3 separate regions of the Homo sapiens genome follow, and all the other regions are linked to region 2. Evidence: promoter capture Hi-C in 16 types of primary human blood cells and fetal thymus (Javierre and others, 2016). All regions are on one chromosome and are shown on one strand. Each heading gives the region's core, a stretch centred on a gene start or on the middle of the fragment in contact. The rest is flanking DNA. Distances are from core to core; before and after follow the strand shown.

Region 1 (4,008 bases), core at 969-3,468, 250 kb before region 2:
TGTTGTCTCACAAGTAAAATGGAGATATGTCTGCCTCATAGGCTATTAAGAGGATAGCATTCTCATACAGCAGTGTTACAAATGATGTATCATAAAATAATAGTCCAACCACCTGCCACATTTCAGAAACAAAAAAAGATTTATACTTTACATGCAATAGACATACAAAAAATTTTAAATTCTGAGGGAAAAAAATGAAAATGCCCCACACATTTGAGTCATTTATATATTAATCTGGAAAGAAATGCTATCTTTCTGTAACTTCTGTTTTATATTTTTATTTCAGCATTCACCCTGTGTGCATGAGCTGTATTAAATGTATCTGACATACATATATATATATATATTTTGTTTGTTTTGTTTTGTTTGTTTAGACAGGGTCTTGCTCTATTGCCCAAGCTAGAGTGCAGTGGTGCAGTCTCTGCTCACTGTAACCTTCGCCTCCTGGGTTCAAGCAATTCTCCTGTCTCAGCCTCCCGAGTAGCTGGGACTACAGGCGTACGCCACCACACCCAGCTAATTTTTTTACACATACATATAGTGGAGATGGGGTTTCACTGTGTTGGCCAGGCTGGTCTTGAACTCTTAACCTCAAGTGATCCGCCCACCTCAGCCTCCCAAAGTGCTGGGATTACAGGCCTGAGCCACCGCATGGGGCATACTTACTTTGATTTTTATTTGCAATTACTAGTTGAAAATCTGTTGTAAAATGAAGAATTAAATTATTTTTATTCTAATTAATTAGTCCCCATACTCTTCTATCAGAATATCCTTCAGGTGGATTTTCCAGAAGGAGTAATTATCTATGTCTTAAGTAAGGGTCAGGAATCTGTATTCTTAAACAGGCCTCATAGATTGAGTAGCTGTCATTCCAATCCCAGAGGGTAGAAAATAATGAAAAATGAAGGCTAGACAGATTTCTTTATTTTGTGGTGGTTTCACTTACGGTCTCCCCCAGCACCCCTTGCCCCGCGGAGGACCTGCTTTATCTCCACAGATTCTGCATCCTTGGATAAAGGTGAAACTTGTAGATACGGAGGTCTTGCCTTTCGTATCCATAGTTTACATAAGGCTAAACTACTGGAGTTCAGCTTCCACAGATTTTTGGTTTCTTGTGTGGGTCCTGGAACCAATTAAAGTTCTCATGAATGAACATGAAAGATGTAAATAGCACAGAAGATTGGCACACTGTCGTATGAGATAAGCTCTGGCCTAAGGGTCTTGGCTGACTAGCTGCATGTCCCATACCTTTTGGACCATTGGACCATTGGACCATAGTGACCTCATCTGTGGAATTATAGTACTGATCTACATGTCCTATATACACTCTTAGGCAGATAGTGATTAAACAGTCATGAATGATAGTGGGGACTGAATGACGAAATGAAAAGACCTTATCTCTTTTAATACTTTTGGTGCAGAACATAGCTGCTTTTAGACTACCAGCAGCAGAAGTATGAATATGGATGACCTGTTTATGTGTTTGTTTTTAACCAATTCTGGGATAATTTGAGACTAATGGGAAAATTGCAAAACTATACCCTTCACCCATGTTTTCCAGATGTTACCGCTTTATCACATTGGCTGTATGATTCTCTCTCCCTCTCTTCTTCCCCTCATCCACAACACTATTTGGGTTTACTTTTGAAAGGAAGTTGCAAGTGGGCCAGCGTGGTGGCTCACCTCTGTAATCTCAGCACTTTTGGAGGCTGAGGTGGGCAGATCACTTGAGGTCAGGAGTTTGAGACCAGCCTAGCCAACATGGTGAAACCCCGTCTCTACTAAAAAAAAATACAAACTTAGCCGGGCATGGTGGTACGCACCTGTAATCCCAGCTACTCGGGAGGCTGAGGCAGGAGAATCACTTGAACCCAGGAAGGGGAGATTGCAGTGAGCCAAGATTGCATCACTGCACTCCAGCCTGGGTGACAGAGTGAGACCTGTCTCAAAAAAAAAAAAAAAGTTACAGGCATGATGTCCCTTACTCAAAAGTACATTAGTGTATGTTTCTTGACAGTAAGTATATGTTTTCATATAACCACAATTTCTGAAGTCAGGAAATTAACACTGATAAACCACTAATCAAAGCAGCCAACTTTATTCCAACTTTGCTACTTATCACACTGATTACCTTTATAAGAAAGAGAAAGGGAGATTGACAATGGGGGCCCATTGTCAAATTGAGGATCACGGATTACTTTCATCACTGCTCTTTTCTTTAATCTCGAACTGTTTCTGTTTTTTATGACCTTGACATTTTTAAAGGGTATAGGCCTGTTTCATAGAATGTCTCAATCTCCAGATATTTTAGATGACCTGCTTTCAATATTTAGACAACAAAATTTAAAATGTCTAATGTATGTTAAAAATTGGGTTTTACACACTTATTTGTGAGAGAAAAGGTATGCTTCCCTGGGTGAAATTAATTGGTGATAGTTCGTCCTTTCAGTGAATTAGTTTCTGGAGAATATTTTTTTCTTTTTCTCTTTTTTTTTTTTTGGTGGGGGGGTTGTTGTTGTTGTTGTTTTGTTTTGTTTCGTTTTTGAGACAAGGTCTTGCTCTGTTGTCCAGGCTGGAGTGCAGTGGCACAATCTCATCTCATTGCAACCTCTGCCTCCCAGGCTCAAGCGATCCTCGCAACCTCACCCTCCCCAAGTAGCTGGGACTACAGGCACACACCACCACTCCTGGCTAATTTTTGTATTTTTTGTAGAGATGGGGTTTTGCCATGTTGCCCAAGCTGGTCTCAGACTCATGACCTCGAGCTATGTGCCTTCCTCAGCCTCCCAAAAATGCTGGGATTATAGGCGTGAGCCACCGCGCCTGGCCAAATTTGTAAATTTCATATATGAGAAGACCACTTAGTCTTCTAGAACTGAATGTCTATGGTTTTTTAAAATTCAAGGCAGTGTAATATTATTAGATATTGTATACGATGTGCACAGGAGTTCTGTTGTTAGGAGCTGATAGAATATCAATAAAAGAATACCTAGATATGGGAGAAATTCCTGTTGCTTATTGGCAGGATATTTGGGAGGTACCAAATAAAACCGGCTTCTTCATTTCCTGGGGTGAGTACGTATTTTGAATTTGGTGTCGAAAATCTTTAATGCATTAAGGGTGTTTGAGGTAATGATAAGAAATAGTAACGAGTAAGTGGGGTGGGGGATGTGAACAGTTAGGGTACTACTAAGAAATTTGTGTGAAAAATAGGTTTGGATTAATGACTTGAAAACTAGGTTGAAGATCTTAGAGCAAGTACTCTTATCAGGATGCTGTAGGTTTTTATCATAAAGTGACATCATCAAAAATGGACTTTGAAAGGAAAAATACAATTGATGTGTATAAAATTGGATTGGTGAATCTTAAATTCAGCTGATTAAGAAAAAATTTTAACCAAATTGAAATGATAAGCAAAGCACCCCTGCCCTTCTAAAAGGGCAAAGATGCTAGAGAAAACCCAGTGGCTGTGCAGATGTGATAAGGACCCAATTTTAAAGAATCAGATGGGCTAGTGATCAATTATTGTTACGAACAGTTAGAAATACGTAAACAAATAATGGAAGTGGAAAGGCTGGCAGTAGTGAGACAGTATTGAAACACTGAACTCTTGAACGTTTTGAATATCATGCATGGGTGCTGAGATAGTTAAGTATAACTGGACCAAACAAGAATTTGATCTTAGTGATTTTGGTGTGTAAGATAGCTTCTTAAATTACATGCCTTTTTTTTTTTTTTTGTGACGGTTTCGCTCTGGCACCCAGGCTGGACTGCGGTGGTGCAATCTCTGCTCACTGCAACCTCCGTATCCCGGGTTCAAGCGATTCTCCTGCCTCAGCCTCCTGAGTAGCTGGGATTACAGGTGCACGCCACCGCGCCCAGCTAATTTTTTTTTGTATTTTTAGTAGAGGTGGGATTTCACCATGTTGGTCAGGCTGGTCTAGACATTGTTCCAGGCACCAGGTAGCTAGCATGTAAATTAATTTTATGGCTCTTGGATTGGAGATG
Region 2 (4,018 bases), core at 1,360-3,859:
ATAATAATAATAAAGAAACAGAAAAAGTATATATTAAGGGTATTATTTGTCCCACTACTAGCTCAAAGTACAAATGGAAAAGCCAACCATTCCTCAAGAAACATCACTCCCCAGTTGAAGTGGAATTCCAAATGTTATAATCAATATGTGTTGACTACGAATGTGAATAGTGCCCCTGTGAACTTGTGCAATGTACACCTACACCATCCATATGTAGCCCTGGATATTAAGTGGTTCAAATAATTTCTGGAAAGGTTCAAGAATCAAGCTTGGAAGCCACACAGTCATCAACCATTCCCAAAATTATACTGCAGGTTTGCTATATGGGAGACCTAGAGTCACTGCTGCTTGGCATAGACACCACATATGATCGATGAAGACTGGGCCACTTATGTACATCCTAGCTGCAAGAGATGCTGGGGAAGCAAGTTCTTGGAGTCAACTTGGGGAGGTGCTGACTCATGAAGTTGGAAATCCCTAAATTTAGGAAGGTATTTGTGATGGTGAATTTTAATGTGTCATCTTGACTGGGCTAATGGATGCCCAGATAGCTATTAAATATTATTTCTGGGTGTGTCTGTGAGGATGTTTCTGGAAGAGATTAGCATTTGAATCGGTAGACTGAGCAAAGAAGATCACCTTCATCTATGTGAGTGGAGTGGGCATCATCCAATCTGTTGAGGGCTTGAATGGAGCAAAAAGACAGTGGAAGGCAAATGTGTTCTCTGCTGGAGCTGGGCCAACCAGCTTCTCCTGTCCTTGGACATCAGCATTCCTGGTTCTTGGGTCTCTGGACTCAGATTGGGCCTTATGTCATTGGCTCTCCTGCTCTTGGGCCTTCAGGCTTGGACTGGATTACACCACTGGCTTTCCTGGGCCCCCAGCTTGCAGACAGCAGACTGTGGGACTTCTCAGCCTTCATAATCGCATGAACCAATCCCTCATAATCTCAATTACTCCCCCCACCCTCTCTCTATATGTATGTGTATATAAAATTTATTGGTTTTGTTTCTCTCAAGAACCCTGACTAATGTAGGGTTCAAAGGCTTTGGGGATCATTCTAAAAGCAAGACGAAAGACAAATGTCCACCAGAGCTTGCAAATACTGTATTTATCAATCCCTCCTCTTCTTGGCATAGTTTCTTTCAAACTTCTTAGTGTCCTCTTCCCATTATTACAAACTTCTCGTTTCTTCTAAGGTCCTTCTAAATTGGTGAGTTCTCAGTGGGAGTTGAGTGACCTTTTCCCTCAGTGTGACTATCACTGCCCAATGTCATTGATACATTATACAACTCCCCATCCCCACTTCCCCTCAGCTCCTGTTAACCACCATTCTTTCTGTCTCTATGAATTTGACTACTCTAGATTCCCCATGTAAATGGAATCATACAGTATTTGTCTTTTTGTGACTAGCTTATTTCACTTAACATAATACTCTCAAGGTTCATCCATTTTGTAGCATCTGCCAAAATTTCCTCCCTTTTAAGGCTGAACAGTATTCCATTGTACGTAGATACTGCATTTTGCTTTTCCATTCACACAAAGAGAGACACTTGGGTTGTTTCCGCCTCTTGGCTATTGTGTATAATGCTGCTACCAGCATGGGGTACAAATATGAGAAGTGAGGTTTAGGATCGTGTGAGGAGGATCACTTGTAGAGGGAAAATAGTGAAATAGGACGACCAGATAGGCTCTGTTGGAACTCGCGCCCATTGTTTTAAGACGCAGCTCAAATGTCACCTGGTTTTAGAAGTCTTCCTGGTCTCCGCAGGCAGTCAGTATCTCTTTCCTAAATCCACCACATTCCCGTAGACAGACACCACATTTATGCAAATCTCCTTCTCACAGACAGTGAGTTCCATGGGGGTCCCCTGGCAGCCTCCAGCCCTGTACCATGCTAACTCTTCCGGAGAGGAAATGGGGCCTCGGGAGAGCCTTTGAAGCCTGTGTTGGTACAGGCTGTCCTTCCAGCTAACGGGGCTCTCTGGGGAATGTATGTTTGACTTTCTATTCCCGGTAATATAAGTTCAAATGTTTGTGGATATTTGAAGCTCGGATGAAAGCGTTTCTATTCATGCCCCTAGAATCTGTGAGGCCTTTTCTTTCTTTTTTTTTTTTTAAACAAGAGCCCACAGCAAAACTTGGGTTACTTGGCTGAGGAAAGGAATGTAGAGCTAGGAGCAGGGTTTCATCTTCAGCCCCAGTCGGGCAAACCAGTGGCAGAAGGGAAAGCAGAGCCCAGGGGTCCCCATCCCGTACCTGGGGCGCAGGCCCCGCTGGGGTGGGAGGGAGAGTGGAGGGCCGGGCAGGCTGCAGCCGCGGATGGCTGCCCCCCCTGCCCCGGTGTTACTGGGAGGACGGAGGTTGCGACAGCAGCCGAGCCCACCCAGTTGCAGCCGGCTCGGGGCTTAGGGCAGGGGCGGGAGGTGACCACCGCGCCGCTGGCCGCCTCGCCCAGACATTCCGTTTCTGCCGCTGGAATGCGCGGACAAGGCTCCTTGTTGGCCTTGGGCGGGGTTCGCCGGGCCGGCCTGGCGCTCGAGGCCCCGGGGCGGGGCGGGGCCCGAGGCCGCGGGACCTTTAAATCCGAGCCTCGCGTGGGCTCCTGGCCCCCGACGGACACCACCAGGCCCACGGAGCCCACCATGCCGCGCCCGGCCCCCGCGCGCCGCCTCCCGGGACTCCTCCTGCTGCTCTGGCCGCTGCTGCTGCTGCCCTCCGCCGCCCCCGACCCCGTGGCCCGCCCGGGCTTCCGGAGGCTGGAGACCCGAGGTCCCGGGGGCAGCCCTGGACGCCGCCCCTCTCCTGCGGCTCCCGACGGCGCGCCCGCTTCCGGGACCAGCGAGCCTGGCCGCGCCCGCGGTGCAGGTACAGGCGGGCGGCGGGAGGGACGCGTGAGCATCGAACGAGGAGAAGCCCAGGGCATCCACCAAGCGCGCTTCATCCCGGCCTCAGGCCGACCGTGGTGCGGGGGAAAGAGGCCCCTCCCGGATGAATCCTGTGGGGGAAACTGAGGTCCAGAGAAGGGGAGGGAGATGCCCAATATCACTCATGTGTCCAGGCTAGAGATGTGGGTCTCCTGAAGCTCTCACTCCCCTGTGATTCGGCCAGGAGCACAGGGCAGCTGGGGAGCGCAGGGGCTGCTGCCCAGCGGCTGCTGCTAAGCTCCGTCCCAGTCCTGACCTCTCCATTCAGTGAGCAAACCCTTCCTGAGACTCTGCTGTTAGTTCTCTTGGAATCTCTCCATCTCCATCCAATATCAGGGCGTGATCTTTCCTCCCCTCCCACAGTCCTCAGGCTGCCTCAGACTGGAAGGTAAGGGATGCGGGTGTGAGACCAGGAGGAGATCCGAGGAGCCGTAGGATACCCCAGGATCAAGACACTCTGGGTCTTTGGCGAACAATTCTATTTCTCTTTTTGGTCAGCAATTGATTCCTGAAGCAGAGCAAAGCTCATAGTGCAGCGAAGCGGGCAGGTCGTCTGACACAGCCCCTGACAGCACATGAAGGGAAACTGAGGCATATCAAGTTGAAGGGACTCTGTGAATCAGTATCAGAGGCCACAATAAAATTCAGGGCTCCGAAATCCCAAGCAAGGTCTCTTTCCACTGCCCCAGCCTACCAACCTCTTAATATGGTTTACATAAGATTGTATCTTCATTTCCAAAAAGCGCAGCTTCAGTCTTGCTAAAAAGAGTCTGTGCCAGGCCATTTCTGGGTATGCAGTCTCATTTGGCCAGCCACGCTGCATGCCTCAGGCTGATTTCAATTGTCTATCCCCTTCTGCATCTTTCTGGATAAGCTGAGAAGGAGCTCAAGGGACTCTTTCCTGACTCAAATACTCAGTCCCCGTATTTGAAGTGGCAGATTTGAAATGGCAAAAGCATTGCTGCTAAGGCAGGAGGTACCGGGGTCCACAGGGCTAGATTCAGCTGGTGGCTGGTTGCTCCAGGCCGGGAATTGAGGGAAAGCCTTTCTTCTGGAAGTTAATCTTACTCTAGTCCTGACCTGCCTCCCTC
Region 3 (4,067 bases), core at 1,498-3,997, 230 kb before region 2:
ACCTGTAATCCCAGCACTTTGGGAGGCTGAGGTGGGCAGATCACCTGGGGTCAGGAGTTCGAGATCAGCCTGGCCAACATGATGAAACCCCATCTTTATTAAAAATACAAAAATTAGGCTGAGCATGGTGGCTCACACCTGTAATCCCAGCACTTTGGGAGGCCAAGGCAGGCGGATCACCTGAGGTCGGGAGTTTGAGACCAACCTGACCAACATGGAGAAATCCTGTCTCTACTAAAAACACACAAAAAAATAGCCAGCCATGGTGGTGCATGCCTGTCCCAGCTACTCAGGAGGCTGAGGCAGGAGACTCACTTAAACCCGGGAGATGGAGGTTGTGGTGGGCTGAGATCGAGCCATTGCACTGCAACCTGGGCAACAAGAGTGAAACTCCATCTCAGAAAAGAAATACAAAAATCAGCTGGGCAAGGTGGCAGGCGCCTGTAATCCCAACTACTCAGGAAGCTGAGGCAGGAGAATCACTTGAACCCGGGAGGCGGAGGTTGCAGTGAGCCAAGATCACACCACTGCACTCCAGCCTGGGCAACAGAGTGAGACTCCATCTCAAAATAAATAAATAAATAAATAGTTACGTCAAATTATTTCTAAATGTCTGCTTTGTTTGAGAGTTGAGCCACAGTTGTAGCCAAGTGAGGAAGAGCCCTCCATAAGGGTCCATCCAACTGATGCATCAAGTTTGAAGGAAGCCACAGTGACACTCCTTAATAAAGCTCTGCCAACTTGGCTTATAGCAAGGAAGCCATTGAACTGAGAAAGATTTGCCTGTTAGCCTTCTAAACCTTTCCCTCTCAACCTCTGCCTGGACAACGAAGTTAGGATGATGGAAGCTTCCTCAAAGCAGTAGGTATTTAGAAATCAGAAACAAGGGTCTCATCCAACTCTACGCAAAGCACACGTTTTCACCTTCATAGTCAGAAGATATGGGATGTTGGCCAATAATTCTTTATGAACATGGTCATCTAGGATCCTGAGGGAAGTCAAAAGCTGCTTGAGAAGATCATGTGTGATTTCCCTCAGCACACATTTTGGTGCCCATGCAGTTGAGCAGAAGCCTTCCACCCAGTTCAGGATCATATCTTTTTTGTGTAAACAGCATGTAGCTCATGGCCAGAAACAGGTTATGGAAGGAATGCTGAAGAGTGGAGGAAAATCCACCACAAATCATTCCATGACCAAATAGGACCATATGGAGAACATTCAGTCTTATCTTTTGTATTGTTTTGTTTTTTGAGACAGGGTCTCACTCTGTCGTCCAGGCTGTAGTGCGCTGGCATGATCACAGCTCACTGCAGCCTCAACCTCCCAGGCTCAAGCGATCTTCCCACCTCAGCCTCCTGAGTAGCTGGGACAATAGGTATGCACCACCGTGCCCAGCTCATTTTTAAATTTCTTGGTAAAGACAAGAGTCTTGTCATGTTGCCTGAATTGGTCTCAAACTCCTGGACTCAAGTGATCCTCCTGCCTCAGCATCCCAGAGTGCTGAGATCACAGGCATGAGCCACTGTGTCTGGCTGGTCTTACCTATTTTTTGAGAAGGCATGAGGTCCTAGGCGGGAGGGAAAAAAAGTAATTCCTAACTCAAAGCCTTTAAATCTAGACAGGAATCAAGATTTCAAAACTAATCAGTGCCTTGGGCTTGGAAGGGAAAGGTAAAATGAAGAGGATGAGGGGATGGCTTTGGGGGATTGAGAGCAAGGTGGGTGCAGCAGCCAGTGCATTTTCATAGTCTTATTTATTGAGCAACTACTTTGCGTCAGGTTTCATTTTTTGTTTGTTTTGAGATAGAGTCTTGCTCTGTCACCCAGGCTAGAGTGCAGAGTGCAGTGGCACAATCTCGGCTCACTGCAACCTCCACCTCCCAGGTTCAAGCGATTCTGCTGCCTCAGCCTCCCAAGTAGCTGGGATTATAGGCGTGGCCCACCATGCCCACCTAAGCCTAATTTTTGTATTTTTAGTAGAGACGGGGTTTCACCATGTTGGCCAGGCTGGTCTTGAACTCCTGACCTCAAGTGATCCGCCCACCTTGGCCTCCCAAAGTGCTGAGATTACAGGCATGAGCCACCGTGCCCGGCCTGTGTCAAGTATTCTTGATGCTGAGGATACAGCCCTCAAGAGGTGCACACCCCAGTGGAGGGAGAAACAGAATGAGATTCTTGATACAAGCAATGCTTCAGTTAACAATAGGGGTCATCACAGATTCTTGAGCAGGTGAGTGACAAGTGCGGTGGTGTGGAGGACCCAGCACAGGCTGGCAGAGCAGCAGTAGAGAGGGACTGGAGGCAGGGGAGGTAGCAGTGCCAGTTACAGAGCTGAGGGGCTCCCCGAGACATGGGCGGAGTCTCATCTCTTTCTTGCTTTATTCCCACCCCTGGCCTTTTATGGCCAGAAGCCTTGGAAAGCCGGGTCACACCTGGTGGGCCCCTTCCTATGGCAGGGATGAGGACAAAAGCACGTGTATGGGCTCGCCCTGGAGAAGAGGAGGGGTGTCTGGGAGTCCTCTTCTGCCCTGCTCCTTCAAAAGTCAGTTCTGGTTTGAGCACTGGAGTCTGGGCTTGGAAGGCACCTGTGAGCAGAGGAGGGAGGGGGTCACCCCCCAGAGTTTGGAAGGGTGACAGCTTCATCTATATTCCATTACCCACCCTCTTCTACAGTAGGGTAGAAAACTAGAGAAGGGACCTGGAAGACAAAGAGTCAGCTTTGTCACAGGAAGAGGCAGCTGTAGACACAACGGCAGCCACCAGGTGACCTAGAGCCCTCCCCACAGGCCCAAGCCTGGCTCACGCAGCAGGGTGGCAAGGGCCTGGGGGCGGCCTTAGAAAGCTGCAAAAGTGGCTGTGCGCGGTGGTGATCCCAGCACTTTGGAAGGCCGAGGCGGAGGCTCGCTTGAGTCCAGGAGTTCGAGGCCAGCCTGGGAAACATGGCGAGATGCCCCTGCCTTCCCTATAAAAAAAATAAAAATAATTTTTTTTAAAAAAGCAACTGACCCGCCTGGGTGACGCCCTCAAGCCCCCCCCCCCCCGCCCTTTCCCCACCCGGGCTTCAGTTTGCTCATTGGGGCCTAATCCAGCAGGGCTGTTGCGAAGCTGCCTGGGAGACACCAAGGGGGACCCCCGCCCCGTCCGCCGAGAGCGCCCCCTGGCGGCCCGGCCCTCCCCTGCGCCGCGGGTCCGGGGGCCCTTCCCAGTCCAGGCGCGGCGCACCCTGGGGGATCCGTCCAGCTCCAGAAGTTTCTTCGTCTAAATTACTTGGAGTTGATCTTTCTAAACAGGATTGCTCAGACACACCCTGCCTTCTCGAACAAGGAAAGAACTCTACCCATCCCACTCAACTGCCATGTACGACCGCCTGCAGCCTCATCACAGGGCACTTCCCATAACATCCTACCACCGCGGACCCCAGGCCTCGCCCCTAAAGCCCGAGCCCTGACATCCTGCAGCCTGGAATCGCACATCTCCAGTCACGTGGCCACTGGCCCCGTTTCGCCAAACATGTCCGGAACCGAACCCATCTTCTTGCACCAAACCTTCTTGTGCTCTTCCTCTTCCCTTCCTGAACAAGTCGGCCCTAAAGCCACAGGTGGGGCGACTAAATTTTTTCGTATAAATAAATCCCAAACATTGCATAGGACATAATTATACATTTTATACTAAAAAAAAATGTTCATCTGAAATTCAAATTTAACTGGGCATTCTGTTTTTATTTGCTAAATCTGACAACCCTACTGCCCCTGTCTCTGGCCAGCCAGTTCCTCCTCGTCTCCTGGAGCCAGCCCTGGAGCTTCCCTAGACAGATTCCAGGGACAGCTCCTCCAGGCACAAGGTCATGATGGCGGTGATGGCAAATTATTGCAATGGCTTGTTTTCTTACGTTTCTCCACCCACACTGTGAGTTGTTGGAAGGCCAGACTGTGTGTTTCTCTCTCTTTACCCCAAAGCCTGAAGTTAGGTGCTTAGGTAATGCTCACCACTGTAAAGCCAGTAGGAAGTAAGCGCGTTTTTCTGTTTTGTTTTTTGTTTGTTGTTGTTGTTGTTTTTGAGATGGAGTCT

The links. Contacts are between HindIII fragments. The CHiCAGO score rates a contact against its expected background, and 5 or more counts as called.
Region 1: a contact is called between a fragment that was not itself captured here and the fragment with the promoter of MATN3 in region 2, in 1 of 17 cell types (M2 macrophages). The highest score is 5.2, in M2 macrophages.
Region 3: a fragment that was not itself captured here is called in contact with the fragment with the promoter of MATN3 in region 2 in 3 of 17 cell types (M0 macrophages, M2 macrophages and M1 macrophages); the score reaches 8.3 in M0 macrophages.

Annotation. Positions count from the first base shown.
Region 1 is chr2:20,264,981-20,268,988 of GRCh38, reverse strand. All of the region lies in intron 13 of PUM2 (pumilio RNA binding family member 2), which reads left to right. Among named protein-coding and RNA genes, the nearest start is that of SDC1, 42 kb to the right of the region's middle. The HindIII fragment of the contact is 7,281 bases long and covers 1-4,008 here.
Region 2 is chr2:20,011,259-20,015,276 of GRCh38, reverse strand. MATN3 (matrilin 3) reads left to right here and starts at 2,609. Exons shown (of 8, transcript NM_002381.5): 1 at 2,609-2,868. The coding sequence starts at 2,646. RefSeq lists an enhancer at 2,893-3,505. The HindIII fragment of the contact is 3,809 bases long and covers 271-4,018 here.
Region 3 is chr2:20,241,516-20,245,582 of GRCh38, reverse strand. No RefSeq gene overlaps it. Among named protein-coding and RNA genes, the nearest start is that of SDC1, 18 kb to the right of the region's middle. RefSeq lists a silencer at 3,038-3,267. The HindIII fragment of the contact is 3,794 bases long and covers 851-4,067 here.